Regions from separate parts of the Homo sapiens genome. Here region 1 is linked to region 2. The links are contacts of gene promoters, found by promoter capture Hi-C in human tissues and cell types (Jung and others, 2019). All regions are on one chromosome and are shown on one strand. The core of a region is centred on a gene start or on the middle of the fragment in contact, and the rest is flanking DNA. Distances in the headings are between cores, read along the strand shown.

The links. The method cuts DNA at HindIII sites, captures the fragments that hold promoters and counts their contacts. A contact is called where the count stands out against the background at its distance.
Region 1: a fragment that was not itself captured here is called in contact with the fragment with the promoter of AAGAB in region 2 in 1 of the 25 tissues and cell types used here (IMR-90 fibroblasts).

Annotation. Positions count from the first base shown.
Region 1 is chr15:67,767,940-67,773,165 of GRCh38, reverse strand. MAP2K5 (mitogen-activated protein kinase kinase 5) reads right to left here. Exons shown (of 22, transcript NM_145160.3): 20 at 3,503-3,564; 21 at 414-459. Among named protein-coding and RNA genes, the nearest start is that of SKOR1, 55 kb to the left of the region's middle. RefSeq lists an enhancer at 1,384-1,659. The HindIII fragment of the contact is 6,173 bases long and covers 1-4,415 here.
Region 2 is chr15:67,252,410-67,257,833 of GRCh38, reverse strand. AAGAB (alpha and gamma adaptin binding protein) reads left to right here and starts at 3,173. Exons shown (of 10, transcript NM_024666.5): 1 at 3,173-3,275. The coding sequence starts at 3,203. It overlaps IQCH (IQ motif containing H), which reads right to left and starts at 3,048. Exons shown (of 21, transcript NM_001031715.3): 1 at 2,887-3,048. The coding sequence starts at 2,937. RefSeq lists an enhancer at 3,113-3,432. The HindIII fragment of the contact is 6,332 bases long and covers 841-5,424 here.

The sequences.
Region 1 (5,226 bases), core at 80-2,579, 520 kb before region 2:
CCAGTTTAATTTCATTCTACATGAATCTAAGAGGACTCCATGCCATATTCAGAAATTTTCTGCAGAATTGCACTAAAAACTTATTGCACTGATGATCTTCTGTTACCAATCCTCTGAATTCTAAAAGGTTTAATAGCAAATGAGGATAAAGAGTAACCTACATTAAGTTTGTGACCCTTGATGAGGCAAATGAAAAGAGCTCTGCATTAACTTTCAAAAAGGTGGTGGGTTTTTAAAAAGTAAACACTATTATCTGAGGATATGAGCTTCAAAAACATCTACCCAAATGAAGTAAATAATGTTGCCTTTTCAGAGCCTATGGCTGTTTCAAATTCCATTCTGGACTTTTAAACAGAATGTTAAACATAAATATATAACTGAGAATTCTAATGTAACTAAAAACATTCACTTACCATCAATTCTTCAGGTGCTGGCCTTTCTTTTGGCTGTTTTCGCATACTATAGTGGAGAGAAAAAAACCCCTTATGTTATCTGTGTCATTTGTATATTTTTGCTATAATTTCTACCAATGGCTATTTGTACTGGAATTTGAATGTTTTCAAAATACATCATGTTCAATTCTTGGCCAAAGTATTAGCATATATTCCCTTTCTTTTATTTTGGTCTTTACTTAGTCAGATTTCTGGGGGACATTATGAGTAAGAAACAAAAAGCTTTTTCTTACTTTTTCACTTAAAAAATATTTTGCAACACAAATAAAGAATGAATTTAAATTAAATGTATCCTAATTCTACTTTTGAAGCGAATGTGAAAAAAGCAGCAATATTCTCTTATTGACTCAATTATCAATTTATTTCAAACTTATATTTAGAGAATATACCTTTTTTTTTGGTAATTGGGATAAGACAGTAAGGAAAGAAACATGACTGTAGAGTCAAATGAGAATACATCTCATTCTTTCACTGTTACTCCGAATGACAAGAAGTATATAAAACAGGTCAGGAATCTAGATAATGCTACAAAATTAGAAGTGTGTTGCTATAGATTATCTTGACTTGCATTTGTTTTGGCAACAAGGCAAGTTGATAATTCATTAAACCGCTGTGGGACAGCTAAATTTGTTTAAGCTGCTTAAAGAATCACATTCTTCATGCAAAATATTTCTTGTCTTCCATGCAATAGATATAATTAGTAGCTGTAACATGTACTTAGCTATGTGATGAAGCACTCACACATGGGATGGAGGTGACTGTGGGCAGCTGCCTACTTGATGGCTGTATTTGTTCTAAACTCAGAGTGTCCATGGGATAGTCATGAAAAGAGATTGCTGCTTCTATCACTTGGAAAAATCACACGGATGCTTTTTTCTTTATAAGGCACTCTTCTAACAAGCAAGAAGAAAACTCTTCTTATAATCTCTGCATTTGCTGACAATACTTTTTTAAAAATAGATTTAATGATCATTTGGTAAACAAGAATCGGAGTTATGAACCATTAATGACATCGAGGACATTTGCCTTCCCTATAAATAACCATATGCACCTCTCAAACACTGCATCCATTAGCAACTAATTCAAGCTGTCTCGCCAGTGGAGTTGGTAACAGTCCTAATCTGACATTCCAAAGTAGCTGTATCTCTTGGGAAAACAAGGCTATTACCCACTATCATTTCTGTTTTGGCTTGACATCTGTGGAAATTTGAATGCAGGTTATCCCTCCCTCTGTCTCCATAAAACTTTTAAATAACAGCTGATTAATTTTTTGGACAGGAGGGAGGTGAAGCCTTATCCACTTTTCTCCCTGCTGCTCAGACCAGCCCCACCCCCAGGTTGGTCTCAGACCACACAGCGAGATAAGATTAGCACTGGGATCCTGTCACAAATCCAACATCTCCTCCGGAGCAGAGAGGGTGATGCCCAAACCAGGCGCTCCAGGCAGTAGAGGAATCGCATGGTTTGTGTTTCAATTTTTGCATTTCAAAATGAGGCATTACCATGTGTAAAACACATGGTACACATTACCATGTGTAAAACACATGGTACACATTACCATGTGTAAAACACATGGTACACATTACCATGTGTTTTAAGAATTCCATGTAAAGGAAATTAAGAGGGATATACATTTCTGGGTAATGGTTCTAACATCATTAAGGAGCTTCAAAACAGCTCAGGATTCCAGTGTTTAATCAACATGTATGCTTTTTTCCGACATGGCATGCTTTGGAAATAAAATGTTTTCAGAGTAAAAATAGTTTTTAAAAGCTACACAATATTATATAAGTATTTTAAATAAATAGAAACAGTGTTAATAAAATTTTTTTAATTGGGGAGAAAAATTTCTTCCTCACATATATTTTCTATGGAATATAAACTGCATGAGACATTTTTATTAAGAGGTAACATGTTACACTTAGTCAAAAAGGTGATAAAGCTTGACATTTATATTAAGGAATATTTCTTGGTTTCCCTTTAGCATAATCATCGGACAGATCATAGTGGGAGGGGAAGGGGATGGCACACAACGATTTTGGTTAGCAAGAATCCTGATAACATTACTTTGCCACACCACAGAACCAAGGGTTTCTTCTGGTAGGGTCTGCCCATTCATTTTCCACCAGTGGACATGACTCTGGACTTTGGTGAAGGAGGGAAAGAAGACCAACGTAGTTAAGAAGGAGTTGCGGTTGGTTTTGTCTCCTGCTTTGAGGACAATGATTCCTATGTTCCTGAATTCCTCCTCTCTCCTAGGTAATTCTCTGTGCTGGAGTGAGGGAGAGGGCAGAGGAATACCTGGGCCTCCCAAGGCCACATGAGTCCTGCAGGACGAGGGAAGAGGGGAATGATGGTGAAAGGGGTAATAAAAGACATCTGCGTTCTGCTAGGAGGAAAAAGGCAGAAGGCTGGCAAAGAACCCTTGGCAGTAAAATGCTTGTTTCTTCAGATATAAAATGACAAGGAATTGCCTAGAGGCTCTGAGGGCCCCTGTGGCTCCTCTCAGTTCTTTAAGGGTTAAAGTGGGCTGAACTGTTTTCATAGTCTTCCAAATGTCAAAATTCATTGAAATGGTACCCCAGTATTGTATTTAAAATACAACCAAAGATAAAAGTTATTTACTGAAAATCCGATGAATTAATAAACTATGCTGCTTCCACTAAGTGACAAGACAGTTTTATGGGTAACTTGAGGTTACATTAATAAAAATAAGCTTCGTACGTCCGTTCAGTAGGGGCTATAAAATTGTGTATTTCTTTTTTTAAAAAAGGATGGCAACAGTATTTGTGCTTAAAGAAGTATCATGACTTTCAGCAGTTTATTAAATCAGGAAAAAGGCTCTGAAGTATGCTTATGACCCTTTGTGTAAATAACGTTTACATAATTTAAACAATTTCTTCAGCTTTGCTGCCCCATCTGCCCAAGGCCCCGAAGTCCCTCCTGTCTCCAAAAGGATGCAGGGAGAGCCATAAGGTCTCACGGAGCTGCCGAGTTAATGGCATGTATCATTTACATTGAGGGCATGGCATGTTTGTAAACGGGCTCACCACTGAGTGATGAAATGTACAAATGGCTCCGAGAACTCTCCAACTGGAAGGACGGGCGAATCCTGTGATGGAGGAAAAACATGTCACCAAAAGTCACAACAGTTCCTTCTCTTTCTTTATATTCCCCACCCACCCATGTGAAGGATGAGTATAAAGATGAATACAATGAGAATAAGGCCTCACCCAATTAAAAAGACTGTCTTTACCTTATTCCACACATTTAGGTAAAGATGCCAAATTTAAAGCCACACATATTTTACAATGGTGAGAAACATGAGAGCTGAGAGAGGGGGAGGTGAAAAAAGGACAATGATAGCCACAGGGTAGGAGAGAAGGTAGGGAAAGTGTAAATGAGAAATTAATGATTATTTAAGTAACACACAAATGGTCTTGTAATTAACAAAGAGCTGTGAAATTATTCTTGTGTTGACCTTTGTTTCTTTTACTGGATTTGCTATTTATTTACACTTTCCTTTTTATTTACATTTATTTGTATATTCAACTGCTCTTTACTGTTTGCCCCTAACAGAATAATTTGGATCAATTTTTTTTTTTTACTTTAATAGAAAGGCTTTTATAGGGGAAGTTGTTTCCTGAAAAGGAATTTCAGCCTATTTGCCAGTCTAGGCAGACTCCTCATATGAGAAAGCCAGTGAATTAAGGATACAATGAAAAACTCCCAACTTGACCACCAACCAAAACTAGGATGGAGGTGGGAGTCAGTCAAAAAAGCAGAAAACTACACAGCAACAAACAACCACCACCACATAATACAAAGAGCAAACCCCATTACCGTTTGCAAAGGAAGGCTTTAAGAATTTAGGAGTTTTTCCAAGAATGACAGAGAGCGCCACTGTGTTTATAGTGTAACAGCTCAGGATGTAATAAAATTACACTGCAGAGTACTTTAACAGTCATCTCATTAGACCTACAGTTGGAACAAGAGAGCCACATAAAGTAGGCAGCTGCAAATGACTCCATTCTCATCTATTCTCATTTGCTATTAAAAATACCTTTCGGCGGCTTTTTTCCTCCCTGACATCCCTACACAAAGTGCCCTGCAAAGTATGATACATGCACCTATTTAAATTAACAAAGGAATGACTTATTTTAATCTCACTGTGCTTTGGAGTGCTTTGGCCATTTGGATGAGCAATATATCATTACATACAACCTTCCAGCGCTGCAGGCAAGAAACTCAGAGCATGCAGCATTTGGTGGGAGCCAAACAATTTCTCTAGCACACAACTGTGTCAAATGCATGCATGTATTCATTATTGAGAACGAGAGGAAATAGCTTTGATGTAGTGGAAAAAAGAAGATGATAAAAGCACCTCTGCAATATGCGTGTCATTATCAATGGTGGCAGATAGATACAATTGCACAGCCTCCTATGTGATTAGTAAATATACATATAATTGCTGTGGCCAATTATCAGAAAAATGAGATCGGTAATTACAAGACAGAAAATTAACTAGAACTCTTATTAAGGCTTTGTTTCCAATTCAAACAATTGGAAAGTGCTGGAAAATACAATTAAATCAAAAGGAACTAAGGGGGTCAAGGCAGCCAAAAAACAAACAAAAACAACAAAAAACAGACAACAAAAAACACCGAAGAGGCTACAAGAAAAGAAACATGAACAAAATGTTTCTTGGTTTTTGCATATCTGTCCTCTTTAAATTTAATCTATTCATCCAGAAGAAGGGATGGTTAGCAATTCT
Region 2 (5,424 bases), core at 1,924-4,423:
AATTGTTGGATTTTTGTGTTAACACACAATTGTTGGATTTTAATTAAAAAGCTAATTTTGAATCATAAGATCAGGTAATATTTGTTACACAAACATTTAATATTTGGGTCAAGCAAGTATTTATAAAGATATATTAAGAATATACCACATTTTAATGAAGCATAAAAACAAAGCTTCTAAGATTTACAAAGCATGATTGGAAACTTCCCAGAGTCACTATCACACTTCTTCAAGATTACTTCATGAACATGCCATAGCCTATTTAAGGATCAATACATACTGGATGTATTACAATGGGCAAGATGCTTTACTTCTTTGTACCTAAGTGTCTTCTGTAAACTGGAGCTAAAAAATAATACTTACAACACCTTTGAGAACCACTGGTCTAAAAAGCTGTTTAATATATCTGACTGATACACAGACGTAACTGACCATATTAGGGTGAAGCAAGTAGAAATTTAAAGTACCTCTGCTTTACAGTCTATTGCACACACACACTCACTCAGTCACTGACTTGCCAGAAACAATTTGATTGCCTAGGCTAACAACAAAGGAAGTCTACTTTTACAGTAAATGATGTAGCCTGGGGAAATTGGGACAATTTAAAGTCAGAAGTGAACCTAATCCAAACTATATGTCCTATGGAAGAGGAAAGTGAGGTCCAGAGAGATGAGTGCCTAACTCAAAGTCACTACTTGTGAGACTGTCAAAGTCATGGTCAGATCTCAGTATTCTGACTCCCTATCAAGTGCTTTCCACTAGACACACTAATTATTGGTAGCCTGTCTGAGGGAAATAAATCATAGCCCCAAATAGAAGTGGAATCCACGTTGGCACAGTTGGGTGGTGCTACATACTCACACATTCTCAGGATTCACTGAGAAAGTAGGGAAAGTCTTCCAAATTTCCTCACTATACATATTCTACATGTAGAGAATAGAATTTTATACTATACAGGAATCAGTCTTAATAATCTGGTTAACAGGTAGGCTCTCTTCCTCTACACAGCCCTTTACTTGATATGTCCACAGGAATCCTTTTAAATAAGTAGGGGTGCAGATCAACATGGATATGACTATTAGCTCTTCTGACCCATCTCACAAGTCAGTGTCAACAGTTATCTATTACTATAATGTTGTATCCTAGGTAAGAGTCTCCATTATTGTTCTAATTATTTGGAATCTATAAAAAGAGTGGGTATGTGCAGCAAAGAATTAACCTTACCCAAAGAGGGGTCCAGTCTTCGCTCCTGGCTACTGGGAGGTGATCTCTAGGCGCCTGGGATGTCCTGCCTGATAGAAGTGTCTTTGTCTGTGGGCTTTGGCCACCAGACAGTCTATCAACATGATTTATAATGGGTGTTTTGATCCACGCTGTATCAGCTCAGACCTCTGGAGCAGCGGGAAACTAAAAGTATTCAGGAGGGGCTGGAGATTAATGGTCAACCACAAGGGCAGTGTGAGATTGAGCCCCAGTAAAAACTCTGGACATCAAAGCCTCAGATAAGCTTCTCTAGTTGCAATATTCTATGCATATTGTCACATATCATGGCTGGGAGGAAGTAATGCAGGTAATGACGTCAATGACTCCACAGGGATAAGATGACCAAAAGCTCTATGTTTGTACCCCTCCTGGACTCTGTCCTATTCATCTCTTTCCTTGGCTGATTAATTTGTATGCCTTCACTATAATAAAATTGGAGATGTGAGCACAGCACTTCCCTGAGCTCTGCGAATAGTTCTAGTGAATCATTGAATGTGAGGGTGGTGATGGGGCCCCTAAGTTTGTACCCAGCTGGTCTGAAGTGAGGTGGTTCTGGGGACCCCTGAACTTGCAGGTAGTGAGTGTTGAAGTTAGGGCAGTTTTTTGTGGACCGTTCCCTCAGACTTCGCAGTTTGGCTAAACTCATTGCTGCGTGATGGTGAAAGTGAGGGTGAGAAAAGATCAGGTAAGATTAGGTATGATTCTTAATGGGGAAGTCTATGAAATTGGTGAGTTCAGGGGCTTGTATTTGGGAAAAGGTACATTTAGGGAAGTCTCTCCTAGATGGGAGGTAAGAGATCAAAATTCTGCCAGAAAAATTAGATCCCTTTGACGAGTAAGACCCACTTCAGACCAACTGAGTGACAGTCCTGACAGAGTGACCTTAGACAAATGACTTCAAGACTTAGTCAAATGCAGCTATTATATATGTGATAGTTAAAACCGATGATATATGTGGAAATATCTTAAAGTTACCTCACATAAATGTGAAAACAAAATGCCATGATCATTTCAGAAACATCTGAGTGCAACTATTACAAATTGAGCTGTATTGGACAAGACTTTCTTGACATTTCCCCTCTCAAATTAAAAAGGTCTTTCACTAAGTTTTTAAATGTCACATTTTTTCATTCCAAGTTATCTTGATTTTTCTGTGTGTTCTCCAATGAGGAACATTTAGATCTAAAAAACTGGGGTGTTTAAGAAAAGCAATTCACATATTTCAATTTGTCTCCAAATTTCTTATCACCTCCTAGAGTGTCCGATTTGTCTCTCCTCCACTCCCGACGTCATGGGTTCAAATTTTTCAGAATATAACATTTAAAAATGATGCCTCAGCGTGAGGTTAATTTTTCTGAAGTAAAGGTTCCGGGTGAACGGTTTTAGAGTTTTCCCAGAGGCAGAAAGTCCTGCTTCTGGGGCGTAACCTACAGGGTAAGTCACCGGGAGTGTGCTGGGCCGTGGGGGAAGGTCTGGGTGGGCATTTTTGGGAGCCTCTCGCGAGTTGGAGGGAGTCTAGGGGCGGCGCACCAAATGGGTGAGCGTCGGTGAATCGGCGCGCGGGACCTCGCTCGGAAGTGGCGCGGCTGGGCAGGGCAGGGCCGGGGGAAGCCCGTTTCCCACCTGGATTAAGATGGATCCGACAGGGTCGTGGTTTTCAGTGTTCTGTGCCATGGCTAGGTCAGGGAACGGCTACCTCCGCGGAGGCGCGGTTTCCAAGCACGGAAACCTTCAGCCGGAGCCGCTCGTCCCCATGGCAACACCGCGCGCGACCTGGCCTGTTCCACGCTGGGAGCGGAAGGGGGTCTAGGGGCGGGGTCAGGCCAGCCTGGTCATTCCGAGAACGCCCTCTCCGGCCTGTCTCCCCCTCGCGCCGGCGGCCGTGGTGCAGCCCAAGGCGGAAGCGGCTGCCTGACGGAACCGGCTCGCGAGCGCAGCTATGGCTGCTGGCGTACCCTGTGCGTTAGTCACCAGCTGCTCCTCCGTCTTCTCAGGAGACCAGCTGGTCCAACGTGAGTAGATAGGCGCCTGGGCCGACCTCCAAGGCCCCTGAGCCTCAGCGGGCGACGGACCCAGCACCACGGCCTCTCTGGGCCTTGTCCCCGCAGCGGGCCCTGCGTTCTTCCTCCAGTCAGTGGAGGCGCCCAGTCTCCCCAGGTGGCTGCCCCTATCTCTTAATCTCGTGCTTTTCTGCCCACTCGGCCTTCTTCGGCGTTCCTTTCGGCTTCCTGTGTAAAGTGAGACTGATTTCCCGCTCTGCTCAGCCCAGGCCACAGGTTTTTGCGAGGATCCGTTGAGATGAACCTGAAGGCTCTCCGGAAATTGCGCTAGGTTACAGGAGTGTAAGGTGCTGGAATTGTTGATATCGTGATGTTGTTATCCTTGCTGCTCCGGGAGAGAGTGTTTACTCTGAATTCTGAAGTTTATTCTGCGTATTTACTCTGAAGTTTATTCTGCTTCTTAATGTGTACATTATAAGACTTGTTAGCTTTGTCCGCTCCACTCTAGTTATTCACGCCTTTCATCTGAGGCATGGGCTCTCCGCCAACATGAGTTTTTGGGTATGATTGGGCTAGTGCTTTTGCTTGTAGACCCTCATAATGGCTGTCAGACTTACTAACTCTTAAAAGAGAGAACATGGGACTGGATAATAAGCCAACTCTACTAAAGGGCTCTGTGAAGTTGAATTATAGGTAACTCAAGACTTCTGTTTTAAGTGTATGGCTTAGAATCAGAGCAGTGACTTAGCTGTATGATCTCGAGCAAGTCACCTAACCTACCTACATTCCTTCCTTCTTTTCTTTTTTTTTTTTTAAAGAGACGGGAACTTGCTCTGTCGCCCGGGCTGGAGTGCAGTGATGCGATCATAGCTCACTTCAGCCTCGAACTCCTGGGCTCAAGCGATCCTCCTGCCTCAGTCTCCCGAGCAACTGGGACTGCAGGCTCACACCACGAACCCTGGCTAATTTTTTTATTTTTTGTAGAGCCAGAGTCTTGCTATGTTGCTCAGGCTGGTCTCCAACTCGTGGTTTCAAGTGATCCTCCTGTCTTGGCCGCCCTAAGTGCTGAGATTACAGGCGTGAGCCACTGTGCCTGGCTACCCTTCACTTTCTCTTTTCTCTCCTTTTTTTTATTTTTGTTTTGAGATAGGGTCTCACTCTGCTGCCCAGGCTGTAGTGCAGTGGCGTTATCTCGGCTCACTGCAACCTCTGCCTCCTGGGCTCAAGCCATCCCCCTACCTCAGCCTCCCAAGTATCTGGGACTACAGGTGTGTGCCACCACGCCCGGCTAATTGCCCCCCCCCCCCCCCGTCATACGGGGTTTGGCCATGTTGCCCAGGCTGGTCTGGAACTCCCGGGCTCAAGTGATCTGCCTGCCTTTGCCACCCAAAGTGCTGGGATTACAGGTGTGAGTCACCACCGCGCCCGGCCCCTTCACCTTCTATCTATAAAATAGGGATAATTTTCGCAAGATTGTGCTTATCCCCGAGTCTGGCACATAGTAAACATTTGATAAATCATAGACATTATTATTAAGGCACATTACTATCTCTGTAACCCTCAATTTCCTGATCCTTAAAATGGGGCATATGAGCCTATTTCAGGAGTATTTGAAGGACAGATGATGTGACATTTTGAACACACTTTGTAAACTGTAAAGCATTGTATAATTATAATTTCTTTGCTACACCTGTCAAATGACAGAATTAGGTAAGATGTCCCTTCAGTGCAGATATTATATGACTTAGTTATCATTTGTGATCACTTAGAAAGTTCCTTGCTAGGGTAAAAGCTTAATTATAGCATTTAACTAAGTGGTTACTAACTGGTCTAATTAGGCCATTTTCTTACCTTTAAGCAGTGCTCCTTCCTATTTTCTCCCTTCCCTCCTTTCTTCCTTCTTTTCTTCCTTCCTTCCTCTTTTTTCTTTAATTGTTTCATTGTAAAACTAGTGCATACTAAGTAAAATTTAGCATACAGAGAAAAGAAAATAGCCATAGTCTCATTACCCAACTACAAATACTGCTAACATTTCTTTCCAGTCTTTTTTTCCATTGCAGTTTCTTAAAAAGAAATAATTGTAATTACATTTAATACACAATTTTTTCTGTTTTTAAAAATTTTTTAAATACACAGTTCTTATCCTCAGATTTATCAAAAA